3 separate regions of the Homo sapiens genome follow, and all the other regions are linked to region 1. Evidence: promoter capture Hi-C in 16 types of primary human blood cells and fetal thymus (Javierre and others, 2016). All regions are on one chromosome and are shown on one strand. Each heading gives the region's core, a stretch centred on a gene start or on the middle of the fragment in contact. The rest is flanking DNA. Distances are from core to core; before and after follow the strand shown. Region 1 holds the start of SPATA4 (spermatogenesis associated 4). Region 2 holds the start of HPGD (15-hydroxyprostaglandin dehydrogenase). Region 3 overlaps NEIL3 (nei like DNA glycosylase 3).

Region 1 (4,831 bases), core at 1,271-3,770:
CTTTGGTTGACAATGTCTCTTTGGTTGATAATGCCTAAACACTTTCTCTAACCCTAATGGGTTCTGTTCTTTCCTAAAACTCATTTAAAAAACCCCTCATATTTCTATGCAATTGCTCCCATTAGTCACTCTGTGTGAGATTGCCCCTTCATCATCCAAATAAATTTCCAAGATCACCTTTGAAGCAATCATCTATGCTTACTGAGCACTACGTGCTGCACATTGTTTTAGGCTCTTTATAGATTTCACTTATTTAATCTCTACAGCTCTGTGGTGTATCCTATTTATTTCCATATTTTACAAATACAAATGTTAAATAACTTGCCCAAAGTCATATAGCTAATAAAAGGTAGTGTGAACCCAGAAACTCTGAGACAGGTCTCAGTTAATTTAGAAAGTTTATTTTGCCAAGGTTGAGGATGAGCACCCGTGACACAGCCTTAGGAGGTCCTGACATGTGCCCAAGGTGGTCAGGGCAGTTTGGTTTTATACATTTTAGGGAGACATGAGACTTCAGTCGACATGTGGAAGATGAACATTGATTTGGTCTGGAAAAGGTGGGACAACTAGAAGCAAAGGCAGGACAACTCAAGCAGGGAGGGGGCTTCCAGGTCATAGGTAGATGGGAGACAAATGGTTGCATTCTGTTGAGTTTCTGATGAGCCTTTCCAGAGTAGGCAATCAGGTATGCATTTAGCTCAGTGAGCTAAGCGGTGACTTTGAATAGAATAGGAGGCAGGTTTGCCCTAAGCAGTTCCCACTTTGACTTTTCCCTTTAGCTTAGTGATTTGGGGGAGGTGGGGGGGGTCCCAAGATTTAATTTCCTTTCACAGTAGAAATGGCTATTCAAAGCTTTCATCTTAAAAATCAGCTTAAAATACCACCTTCTAAGATCCAAATTAATGGTCATCTCTTTTGAGAGGACTTCTTACACTCTCCCAGGCCAAAGTATTTGCTTCCTTTCTGGTGCTAACATATTTTTACCATGGCAGAGCTTTTCAGTGTATGTAATCTTTTCACTGATATTTCTATCTCTGAATCTCTTATAAATGATCTGCCGCACAGAGCTGTCCAATCGAAATTCCTGTAGTGATGGAACAGTGCTGTGTCTGTCCTACCCAACATGGCAGCCACTAGCTACATATGGCTATTGAGCAGGTAAAATGTAGCCAGTGGAACTGAGTTTATTTAAATTTAAGTTTAAATAGCCACATGTGGCTAGTGGCTACCATATTGGATGGTAAAGATCTAGCACATACTCCAGGATAGTTCCTCAGAAAAGGTTTACAGAATGAATGAATCATTCATTAAAACTTTTTTAGCCTAACAGAAAACACTTACATAGCTTCAGTTTTGGTTTTCTTTTTTAACCACATACAGAATACACTGGTTTACTTTATTAATAAGCATGTATATGAATAAACATTAAAAATATTACATAGTATCATTATCAAGATCTATCCCATATTTTACCATGTGTATGTATCCACAGGGCCTGTCACCTGGCTCTCTGCAGCCTCAAGTTCCTGAGCTCAAGCAATCCTCCCACCTCAGCATCTGGAGTACTTGAGAGTACAGGTGTGCACCACCACACCCAGCTATTTTGTTTGTTTGTTTGTTTTGTAGCGAAAGTCTCTCCACCTTGTGTTGCCCAGGCTGGTCTTGAACTCCTGAGCTCAAACGATCCTCCCGCCTCCACCACCCAAAGTGCTGGGATTACAGGCATGACCCACTGTGCCCTGCCAAGCAAAAAAAAACAAAAAACAAAAAACAAAAAACAAAAAACTGTGGCTGTAAAAATTTTTAATGGATTTTAATAATTAAGCTTACATATTTATAATTGCCTATGCCAACTTTGCAGTTGTTTTCATTGTGTTCAGATAGATCCCAAGTGACTAGATGAATGCGTGGCACATAATATGGACTCAATACATATTTGTTGAATTAATGAAGGAATTATGCCTACTAGGAGATTTTAATTAAGTGTGAAAATCTAACCTACACATCGTTTTCAAATATTAATGTTTACAAATACTTAATGCAATAATTAAGGAAATAGTTATGTTAAATTTTGTGGACATTCATTTCCATTTCAAAGATTTTTTTCCCCCATCTCTTCCAATTCCCAAACAAAAACTGTCCTTGGCCTCTGGAGTCTTCTCACACCACTCCTCAAACTAGACGACTGAAAATAGGCCTTTGGCTGGGCAGAAACCAACAATATTTAAAATACAAAACTTATGAACGATGACATAAGAAAAAAAAAGCTCTAAATAGGTTAACAGTGAGGCCAACTAAATCTGAGACTGAAAGCGCTCCCCAGACCGCAGCCACACCACTGGGACCCCAGCTTTGCCTCCCTCGATACCCGGCCCCGCGGTCCAAAATCTGAGTAAAGCGGAAGTACGGGCGGCTGCTGCGGCGCTTGCGCAGGCGCTGAGGTCTCGCCCCATAAGACTCCGCCCCGCCCCACGAGACCGCGCCGCCAGCAATAAGGCCCAGCCCCGCCTTCTGCTGTTGCCGCAGCAACCCAGAAAGCGTCATGGCTGCCGCCGGCCAGGAAAAAGGGTATTTGACACAGACTGCGGCAGCCCTAGACAAGTCACCGTCACTTTCGCCACAGCTAGCAGCTCCCATCCGAGGGAGGCCTAAGAAGTGTCTGGTCTATCCGCATGCGCCGAAGAGCTCCCGCTTGTCTCGTTCCGTTCTGCGTTGGCTTCAGGGTCTGGATCTCAGCTTCTTCCCCAGGAACATCAACAGGTGCTTGAGTAAGCCAGTCCTAGGCCCCCCCGGTGGGCGCCCCGCCTGCTTTCCGCCGCCTGCCAGGCCTCAGATTGCCTACCCTGGCCTGGCTTATGTTTCAAATCAAGACCCCCCCACCCACGTACACACACGAAAACACTATTAGGGAACAAGGCTTTAACAAAATACCACGATACATCTTGTTTATTCAATTAATCAACCAATCATTAAATTGTGGACAATATAGAATGCTTTGGTGACTACAAAAATATTAAAATAGTCAAAGCTTTTTCTTTAGTGATATTGGGCATTAATACTGGTAAGGACGGCCGGGCACAGTTGCTCATGCCTGTAATCCCAGCATTTTGGGAGCCGAGGCAGGCGGATCACCTGAGGTCAGGAGTTGAGTAACAGCCTGACCAACACGGTGAAACCCCGTCTCTACTAAAAAATACAAAAAATTAGCCCAGTGTGGTGGCGGGTGCCTGTAATCCCAGCTACTGGGGAGGCTGCAGGCAGGAGAATGCTTGAACCCGGGAGGCGGAGGTTGCTGTGAGTCGAGATTATGCCGCTGCACTCCAGCCTAGGTGGCAGGGTAAGACTCTGTCTCAAAAAAAAAAAAAAAAAAAAAAAAAAAAAATACTGGTAAGGATCAGTTTACCCTTTGTCGGAGATGGCATCTAGTTTGAGAGTTACCAACAAGTTTTTAAAGTTGCTGCTTAATTGTAGGCACTTTGTATGTAACTGGCAGCTAATATTTGCTCTGGGAATGCAAACTAAATTCTATAAAAAGGCAATGAATCTTTTGCAGAACTCTGGTTTAAAGTAGTCTCTCCTTATCAGAGAGGCATAGGTTCCAAGATCCCCAGTGGATGGCAACTGTGGATACTACAGAACCCTCTGTCAGAACACATTTCTGTTTATGTCTTCCATCCACAAATTTAATGCCTTTTTAAAAATCTTAACTAAGCACTTATCACACACTGTGGCTGAAAGTTTTTCAGTTTGAGGTGTGATGCCGAAACTATCAAGAATTTCTTTTTCTTCATATTTCAGGAATATGATTCATTCCTACCATTGTAACCATTCTTACAACTTTCTATTAAGTCAAGAACTTTCATCTTTTCACCTAAAGGAATAATTTTATGGTTTCTCTCTGGCATATCTGAATCACCAGCATCACTGCTCTTGCACTTTGCACACAAGCGCACCACACTGTACAGTTGATCTGATGACTAAAAGGTGACTGATGTCTACAACGTGGAGACTCTGGACAAAGGGAGGACTCACATCCTAGGCAACACAGAGCAGGCAGGGAGGTTTCATCAGACTGCCCAGAACAGAGTACAATTTAAAAGTTACAAATTATTTCTTGAATTTTCCATTTAATATTTTCCGACTGTGATTGACCCAAGGTAACTGAAACTGCAGAAAGCAAAACTGCAGATAAGCGGGGGACTAGTTTACTAATTTGTCTTCAGTATTACTTACAACCATGCCTCTGAAATTTTAAAGTGCATATGAATCACCTGGGGATCTTCTTGAAATGCGGATTCAATACAAATTAACAGTTTGGGTTCATCAAAAGAACACCAAAGCCTTTGAAACGTAGATAATCTTAGCAAAATTCCACAGTAGGTTCTCCTTAGAGCAACGATCCAACAACACTCACTTTACAAGATACTTTTAGTATGGAATATTAGACTAGTATTAATTATAAAATAATACAAACTGCATAATTAACTACACTTTATTTCATTTCCTAATTGCCACGGATCAGAGATTTTTCAAATGGCTTCCTAATTGCAGAAATATTCTGTATATATTACCCCTGGGAACTTGAATTATCATCCTTTGAAAACGGGACCTCTTTAAAAGTCAAGTTGGATAACTGGGCACAGTTGGAGAAGGTACGTTAGCAGTCATTTACACTTTTAACTGTTAAGATGTTTGTTTTAAAGTGTGCCATGCTAATTTCCTGGATCTCTACGTGTATGTGTGTGACTGTGTGATACTGAGTTGGCAGCTTGTTCCTGTGTATTACAAAGTTTATTAAATTCCAACTGTTTATGTCATGAGTCACCTATGA
Region 2 (2,579 bases), core at 1-2,500, 1.7 Mb after region 1:
TTCCTTGTTTTCTTTTTGTCTTCTACTATTATTCCCTTTCAATATGACCCCTCAATTTACTCTTCATATTACAATTTTAATTATCATCCTAGAGTACAAATATCTATTTTCCTGTTTTAATTTCTCAAGATTTTGTCAAGACCTAATTTCAAATTAATGTTAAAGACATTTGCTTAGCGGCTTACCAACAACGCGACAAGACACATTTTACACAGTCTCCTCATACACTCCTTCCCTGCTGAGCCAGCCACCTTTCCCAGTAAAGAAGGTAAAGAAGATATAAAAATGATTCATTCTGCTGTTAGTGTCAGTCTTTTGCTCAACTCCCATTTCCCCCAAGTATTTAGATTTTTTTTTTCTTTAAGAAAATAAATGCCAGCTGGGCATAGTGGCTCATGCCTGTAATCTTAGCACTCTTTGGGAGTCCAAGGTGGGAGGGTCGCTTGAGCCCTGGAGATTGAGGTTGCAGCGAGCTGGGATTATGCCACTGCATTCTAGCCAAACAGACAGAGCGAGATCTTGTCTCAAGATTAAAAAAAAAAAAAAAAAAAAAAAGCCAACCACTTACGTTTACAGAATTAAAATTGCAGCCTGCCGCTGACAACCTGAGAAAAAGAGACAAAGTCAGTGGAATAGCCCTTGTTATTTATGCAAGTCCGCATACAGCTAGCCCTGGAGTTCCTGGAGAGCAAGGAACCTCTGTCCCAAACTTGACTCAGAGCTTCCAAAGTTGGTGTATTTCAACAAGTAAGCATTCCATTGAGCCAACAATTTGGTAGGCTACCAGCGGCTCTGGAGCGCCTGTTGATGATGACAGTTTTTGTGGGGGCATCTCAATATGACACACAATTGACACTGACCAGAAACACAGCGCCAAGGACACTCTAGTCCTAGCCATGAAATGTTATGATTCCAGGTTTTCAGGACAGAGCAGAGTCCACTTCTCATCTCCAGTATCCGTAAAAATTTGTCCAAAATGTAACTAAGAAAACACAATGATATTAGTTACTTCTGCTCCCCGTCACCCTCAACCCCACTGATTACGAGATGGGAACTCACACAAAACTTTGAGACAAAAGAGCAACAAGTTTGCTTTATTGTTTGCTTGTTTTGTTCCGGAGTCGGGGCCGGGAGGGAGTGCAGGAGGAGGGATCCAAGCTTCCAAGCCTCTGCTCCGCTCTCCTTCTATCCAGTTGGTCTTTAGGGCACTGAAGGAAACTCTTCTTCAGAAATAACCTTTTAACTTTTCTTCTGTCAGCTGCCTGCCAATCACGGAGCCAGAGGCTGAGGGGAGGCTTTGAGCCGGTCTGCGAGTCCGGAAGGCAAAGATCGCGAAGCTTGGCGCTCCAGAACGCTCAGGGGGCAGGTGACACAGTCGTGGGTTCCCCGGCGGGCGCTGGCTTGACAGTTTCCTCCCCGCCCACTGGCAGGGGAGCGCCCCGCCGGGCTGCACGCGCGCGCGCGCAGGGGGGCATAAAAGCCGCGGCCGCGCGGAGACGCGGAGCTCGCCCACCGCCCGCCCCAGCAGTGGCTGCACCATGCACGTGAACGGCAAAGTGGCGCTGGTGACCGGCGCGGCTCAGGGCATAGGCAGAGCCTTTGCAGAGGCGCTGCTGCTTAAGGGCGCCAAGGTAAGCCCGGCGCCCAGCCGCGGAAATTTCTCTGCCCACACACTCCGAGACTCGCCCCGCCGCCCGAGGTGCACTGGCGGAGACAGGGAGGCCGCGCCCGGCGTGCCCACTTTGCCACTTCCAAAATTTGCTGAAGCTGAGGCTGTGAGCACACCTCAGAAGTGGCTGGGAGGGAACCCAAACCTAATTGCCAAATTTCAGGTCCAGGAGGGGAGCCTCTTGTGTGTTTATTGTTTGTCCGTCTATTTCGTGAGCTGCGCAGGCCCGCGATTCCTCTCCTCTTGTCTATAGGTAGCGCTGGTGGATTGGAATCTTGAAGCAGGTGTACAGTGTAAAGCTGCCCTGGATGAGCAGTTTGAACCTCAGAAGACTCTGTTCATCCAGTGCGATGTGGCTGACCAGCAACAACTGAGAGGTAAGACAGGGGAATCAATCTGTCAACTGGGAACGTGCTCTCAACAAGCAACAACCTGAAGGCAGCCCGGCCAGGGGGCCCTGGGTGCCGCCTCCGCTGCCTCCTCGAGAGCAGCTACCTTGAAGCTCCAAAAGACAGTTTGGACTGATACGTTTCCTTCTGACAGCCCAATAGCTGTAAAACCGAAAGAAAGGCAAGACTGCTGGAGAAATCCTTTTATTGTAGTCATTTGGCAGCATTAATGTAATCAAAATTCCTTTATGTATTCAAAGACAGTGCTGCTGCAGTAATTATTAAATGATTGAAATTGCAGACAAAACTTGGAAAATTAAAGTAGGTTAAGTAAGGTACTGTTGACAAACAACTTCTCCCAGAAAGCTGGAGTCCAATGACAATCAAATGTGGCAGTGTTTTTCGTTTAAACATATCAGAATACAAGTTCAAGGAGCATCATCACAGAAGTGCTAGATGCTTTTGACCATATGTTTTCTCCGGCTTTTTCCCCAATGAGACAGTACTTTAAAATAATAATA
Region 3 (4,831 bases), core at 933-3,432, 1.1 Mb before region 1:
TCAGTGTGAGTGCAGCTGGGTGAACATGCATATAAACATTCGCACACACTATACTGGCAATGTGGCATTGTATGCATCCAAAGTTAATAAAGATTACACCTGGTAGTGGGATTGAGAATGTATTACTTTACACTTATTTTCATTATTTTTCAGTTTTCTCTACTGAGTACTTGTTACATTTGTAGCAAAAACTTCAAGTGACGTTTGTGTTGTTTTAGTTGAAGAGTTAGTGGAAAGTGTTCAGAAGTTGTACAGGTATTAATCACACATAACACAATAGTGCTCCTAAAATAAATGTGTATCAAATAATTTTTAGTATTCCTTGGCACTATCAGGAGCACTTGAATATATCACTTAGTAGGTAGAGAAGTAATCACTCTCTAATTTGTATCTTTCTGATGTGTGGATTTTTACAGGGCAGATTCTTTTAGAGGCTATGCTCGTATTCTACTTTCATTAACAAATGAATCCCAGGAGATTCAACCAATGAATCCCAGGAGATTCATGGCCCAACCTATGAGATGCACACACTTTATGACTAAACTCTGCGGGCAATTTTGCTTGTGAAAAGTTGGGTATCAAGGGAAAACTGTGAGCAACCTTTGAAAGTGTTTCCTGCTATATGCTCTATCAAATGCAGATGAGCCAGGTGGGTGGGAGGCAGAAGTCAAAAATGAAGACTACATTTCTATTGCAGGTGCACAGACCTGCAGCCTCACAAAAAGATCACATTTCTTTGAGAGAGTTATCCATTCCTCTAAGAAGCACAGGTTGGAAGTACATTTTTTGAACTTCTGTTACATTGTGAAAAGAGGGGCAAATGATTTTAGGTTCAGATTCCAACAGCAGATCTGCCATTGACCTTGAATTGTTACATCCAATAGTTGTTATGGCTGCAGGAAACTGAAAGGAAGCAAGCCACTGCATTTTTCCCACCCATATACTGACATAGGTACTCTCCAGGGAGGGCACTAGTTCAATGAGTTTGAAGAAGTGATTGTCCTTGTTTAGAACTTCATGGAACACTTACTGACAGCCGTGTGCTGAGAAATGACTTCCCCCTTATCAGTCTGGTGGAGAGCACTTGATAAAAACCCCCTCTCATCTTACAGAAATAAATCTGTACCTAACACCAGAGAATCAATAACATATCAATGTTTTCAACTATCGTGCATAGATCCCATTGTGTACTACTCTATCCAGAGCTATGAGTTTTCCATCACATCAGTCTACTACAGCAGCAGTGTAACCTGCAATATATCATTACTGCATGAACAACTAGGCATATGCTGATGTTATCAATTCCAGACTAAGCAAAACCATGAAGTGACAATGTTGTCCAAGGACAGCAGCTGCTGACAATGAAAAGAGAACACCTCAAAGGAAAAGCAATTACATAAACCCTGGATTACTCTAAATATGTGGTAGATGAGATGCAATAAAGAACAATCATATAGTATCATCTCTTTGTGACAATTATTCACCTTTGGTTAGCATGGGGTCCAGGAACAGGTCTTTTCTTTTAAGAAAAAGGTGATAACTGTGGTCAGTATCTTTAAACAGCACTAAAAACGATTTGAGGAAGCAGTATCAATTTTTACAGTTGGCAAAAGCTTAGGCTAAACTCAGAAAAGACAGAATGAGATTGGGTAGACATATTAACTCAAAGGCCGCTTTCATTTTCCTGCAAAAATTAAACATGTGATCATGCATCACAATTACATATATTTTGACTTTTTTATCATTAAGTCAACAAAGGAAATAGGTTGCTAGTCCTTCTCTGCCAGTATATTAGCCATGAATTTCCATGGGAACTGTGAAACAATGGAGAACCTGTTATTTCTCTGGAAAGTTTTTACACTCTCTAAGTAAATTTCCAAATTCCATTCAAGGCTTCAGAGAAAGCAGGAAGCCAGAAAAATATTTAAAGATCAAGTGATACATTTAAACCAAACTAGGGCCTGTCACAAATATAAAGTAACCGATGTCACTGAATACAATAAGCATTCGGTAAAAACAAGGAGAGACTTGTGGTATAGGAAGCTTGGGGACTAGCAAAACAGATGTGTTGCTCTAATACATCTTGGGAAGCCCTGTAAAATGACTGTCTTCCAAGTGATGATGACATCAGAATTTATTCTTCTGCTGTTTATTGATTTCCATGATAGAATCACAACCTCTCATATTGGAGCTCTCTTAAAAACACAGTACTTCCTATATGATTAAATGTGACACCCGGCAAACTCCATCTAGCCTTCTACGCATCTTTAAATATAGAGAGATAAGATGTATCGTACAGGCTTATCTTACCGTAAAGCTTTTGGTCCAAAGTACATAAAGAGCTCCTTCCCCAAAGTTTCCACGCCACTGTAAACATATCCATTAAACAGGCTCAAGACATTCTGGCTGGAATCATTATTCAGTGCAGCAGCCTAGTGGAAAATACATGTACACACATAAGCACACACACACACAAACTCTAAGCAAAAGCATTATTTAATTCTTAAATGTGTTTATATTACTTCACGCCCAGGTGCATTCCAATGAGAAGAATAATCTCCAACAAGTCATGTAATGTAATCGGCTGTTTACATACATTTTGTCAAATCACTATGCAGTCATTTAAAGAGAGAGAGGCCAAAAAAATTAAGTGAAAAAAAGTAATTGGTAGACAAGCAAAATAAAGTTTCTTCCAGGACCATATAGCTCTGTGCATATGAAAAGAAAGCATAGGAATACAACACGAATGTTCTAAAACTAAAAACTGGAATATAGGTTCTTCCATTTCCAGAAGTATATAGCCAAGTTCCCTGAAAGAGTGGTCAGATAAAAACAGCTACAAATGACAGATGATAAAATATGAAAACAAAATATTTTTAACTTCACCGATGAACTTTTAAGCTAGTATGAAATAATAAAAGGTCAAAAACTAAAAGCGGGAGAGAACCCTGAGAGGTAGTAGGGAGAGCTGTGAAGCCAGCATCTATCCTAAGGGCATTGATTGAAACTAAGGAATGAGAGCTTCAATTTTCACATGAAACTAAGGAATGAGAGCTTCAATTTTCACATCTTGTGAGGGTGCAGGAGATCAGAGATAAAAACCTGCGGCCCCCTGAGTAGGGGAATCTAATTTGAGACCTGTCCTATTCCAAGCACAATGTTAAGAATAAAGAAAAAATAAACTCATATTCCCTTTCCCCCATCAGCCTTGCAAAACCAAACAATATATTGTTAGAATGACAACATATAGGCAGAATCCTATAAGATATTCGAGGAAATTATAAACATGAATTAAACAGAAAACAAAAATATAAAATGTAGGTTCTTCTGTGGGAGAAGAAAAGAAAGGGCGTTTGGTTTAGATTTTAGTAATGCCCTTTTTCTTAAACTGAGCATTATGTATACTGGTGTTTCTTATGTCATTATTTTTTATTATTTATATATGTTTTATAAACATTATTTAATTTAAACTCAAAATGTAATAAAAATGTAAAACTTAAGACATGCGTAATTATTATATAAGATAAAATAGGGTACACAGAATTACATCTACGCATTAACTCAGTCTAAGGTAATATCCTCATTTACCTCTAACTTCTTTTGTGTTTTTCTCAAATGGGCCTAAGGATCCTCAGAAGATTCTGAACGAAACCTTGGTGGGCAGTGGGAGTGGGGAAATGTCAAGATATAATTATAAAACAGCTTTAGATACAGAGTCTAGAAACAAGTCACAATTTTTCCTCAATTTAGAGTGAAATGATATTGTTCAGTGATTCTCAAACTTTTGATTTTACAGACATTTGTCATTCTAAATGCTTAAGATGACATGTCCACTCTATTCTTTATTTCACTAAATTGGTCTTTGTTAAGATACAATCACAGTACTTAGCTCAAAGAGAGATAACAGGGAGATAAAGAAAAAAAAAAAAAAGAGACAGACACTATTCTTCCACTAAACCCATTCAAGGTTGAAATAGCTACAGTCAATGCCAGAATTTTCCAACTGCCTGAAGTTCAGGCGACTGGCTTTATATATCCCTCCTTTGTTTAAGAACTGGAGAATCAATCACTGGCTTAGAATGACAGATAAATTAAATGCACAGGAGTAATTAAAAATGACAGCAGGCCCGGCGCGGTGGCTCACGCCTGTAATCTCAGCACTTTGGGAGGTCGAGGCGGGCGGATCACGAGGTCAGGAGATCGAGACCACCGTGAAACCCTGTCTCTACTAAAAATACAAAAAAAATTAGCCGGGCATGGTGGCGGGCGCCTGTAGCCCCAGCTACTCGGGAGGCTGAGTCAGGAGAATGGCGTGAACCCTGGAGGTGGAGCTTGCAGTGAGCCGAGATCACGCCACTGCACACCAGCCTGGGAGACACAGCGAGACTCCGTTTCAAAAAAAAAAAAAAAAAAAAAAAAAAAAAGACAGCAGTCACTTCCTGTTCTGCACAAATCACAAAAAAAGAACCTGTTGGAGACTGTAGGTATATGCCACCATGTCCTCAAAGCTCAGTCTTTGGTTGCCCTTTCTGGGATGAACTCTAGTACCTATCAATAATTATCAAGCACTGGGAAGGCAGGCTTGAGTACTCAGTGAGGAAAAAACACATTTGCCTTCTTTTTATATAAGTCAATCTTTTAGAGCCCTGAATTGACAAACACCAAGAATCTTGATGCTTTTCTCCTTAACAGGAGACTTTAAGTCACTTAAATACACTTCAGGCCAAGTATAGATTACAATAGTGGGTTTTAAGGTAGGTTTCCATGACAACCAATTAGTATGTAAAAAGTTCCTATAAACTTGCCAGGACACTTTTAAGATGATGATATA

What was found. Contacts are between HindIII fragments. The CHiCAGO score rates a contact against its expected background, and 5 or more counts as called.
Region 2: a contact is called between a fragment that was not itself captured here and the fragment with the promoter of SPATA4 in region 1, in 1 of 17 cell types (fetal thymus). The highest score is 6.1, in fetal thymus.
Region 3: a contact is called between a fragment that was not itself captured here and the fragment with the promoter of SPATA4 in region 1, in 1 of 17 cell types (total CD8 T cells). The highest score is 6.3, in total CD8 T cells.

The regions. Positions count from the first base shown.
Region 1 is chr4:176,193,274-176,198,104 of GRCh38, reverse strand. It overlaps SPATA4 (spermatogenesis associated 4), which reads left to right and starts at 2,520. Exons shown (of 6, transcript NM_144644.4): 1 at 2,520-2,760; 2 at 4,523-4,652. The coding sequence starts at 2,543. The HindIII fragment of the contact is 1,203 bases long and covers 1,828-3,030 here.
Region 2 is chr4:174,521,411-174,523,989 of GRCh38, reverse strand. It overlaps HPGD (15-hydroxyprostaglandin dehydrogenase), which reads left to right and starts at 1,502. Exons shown (of 7, transcript NM_000860.6): 1 at 1,502-1,631; 2 at 1,923-2,046. The coding sequence starts at 1,539. It overlaps LOC105377548 (a long non-coding RNA gene), which reads right to left and starts at 1,377. Exons shown (of 7, transcript XR_007058492.1): 1 at 861-1,377; 2 at 569-605. The HindIII fragment of the contact is 179 bases long and covers 1,161-1,339 here.
Region 3 is chr4:177,320,060-177,324,890 of GRCh38, reverse strand. It overlaps NEIL3 (nei like DNA glycosylase 3), which reads right to left. Exons shown (of 10, transcript NM_018248.3): 2 at 2,311-2,432. Among named protein-coding and RNA genes, the nearest start is that of NEIL3, 13 kb to the right of the region's middle. The HindIII fragment of the contact is 274 bases long and covers 2,046-2,319 here.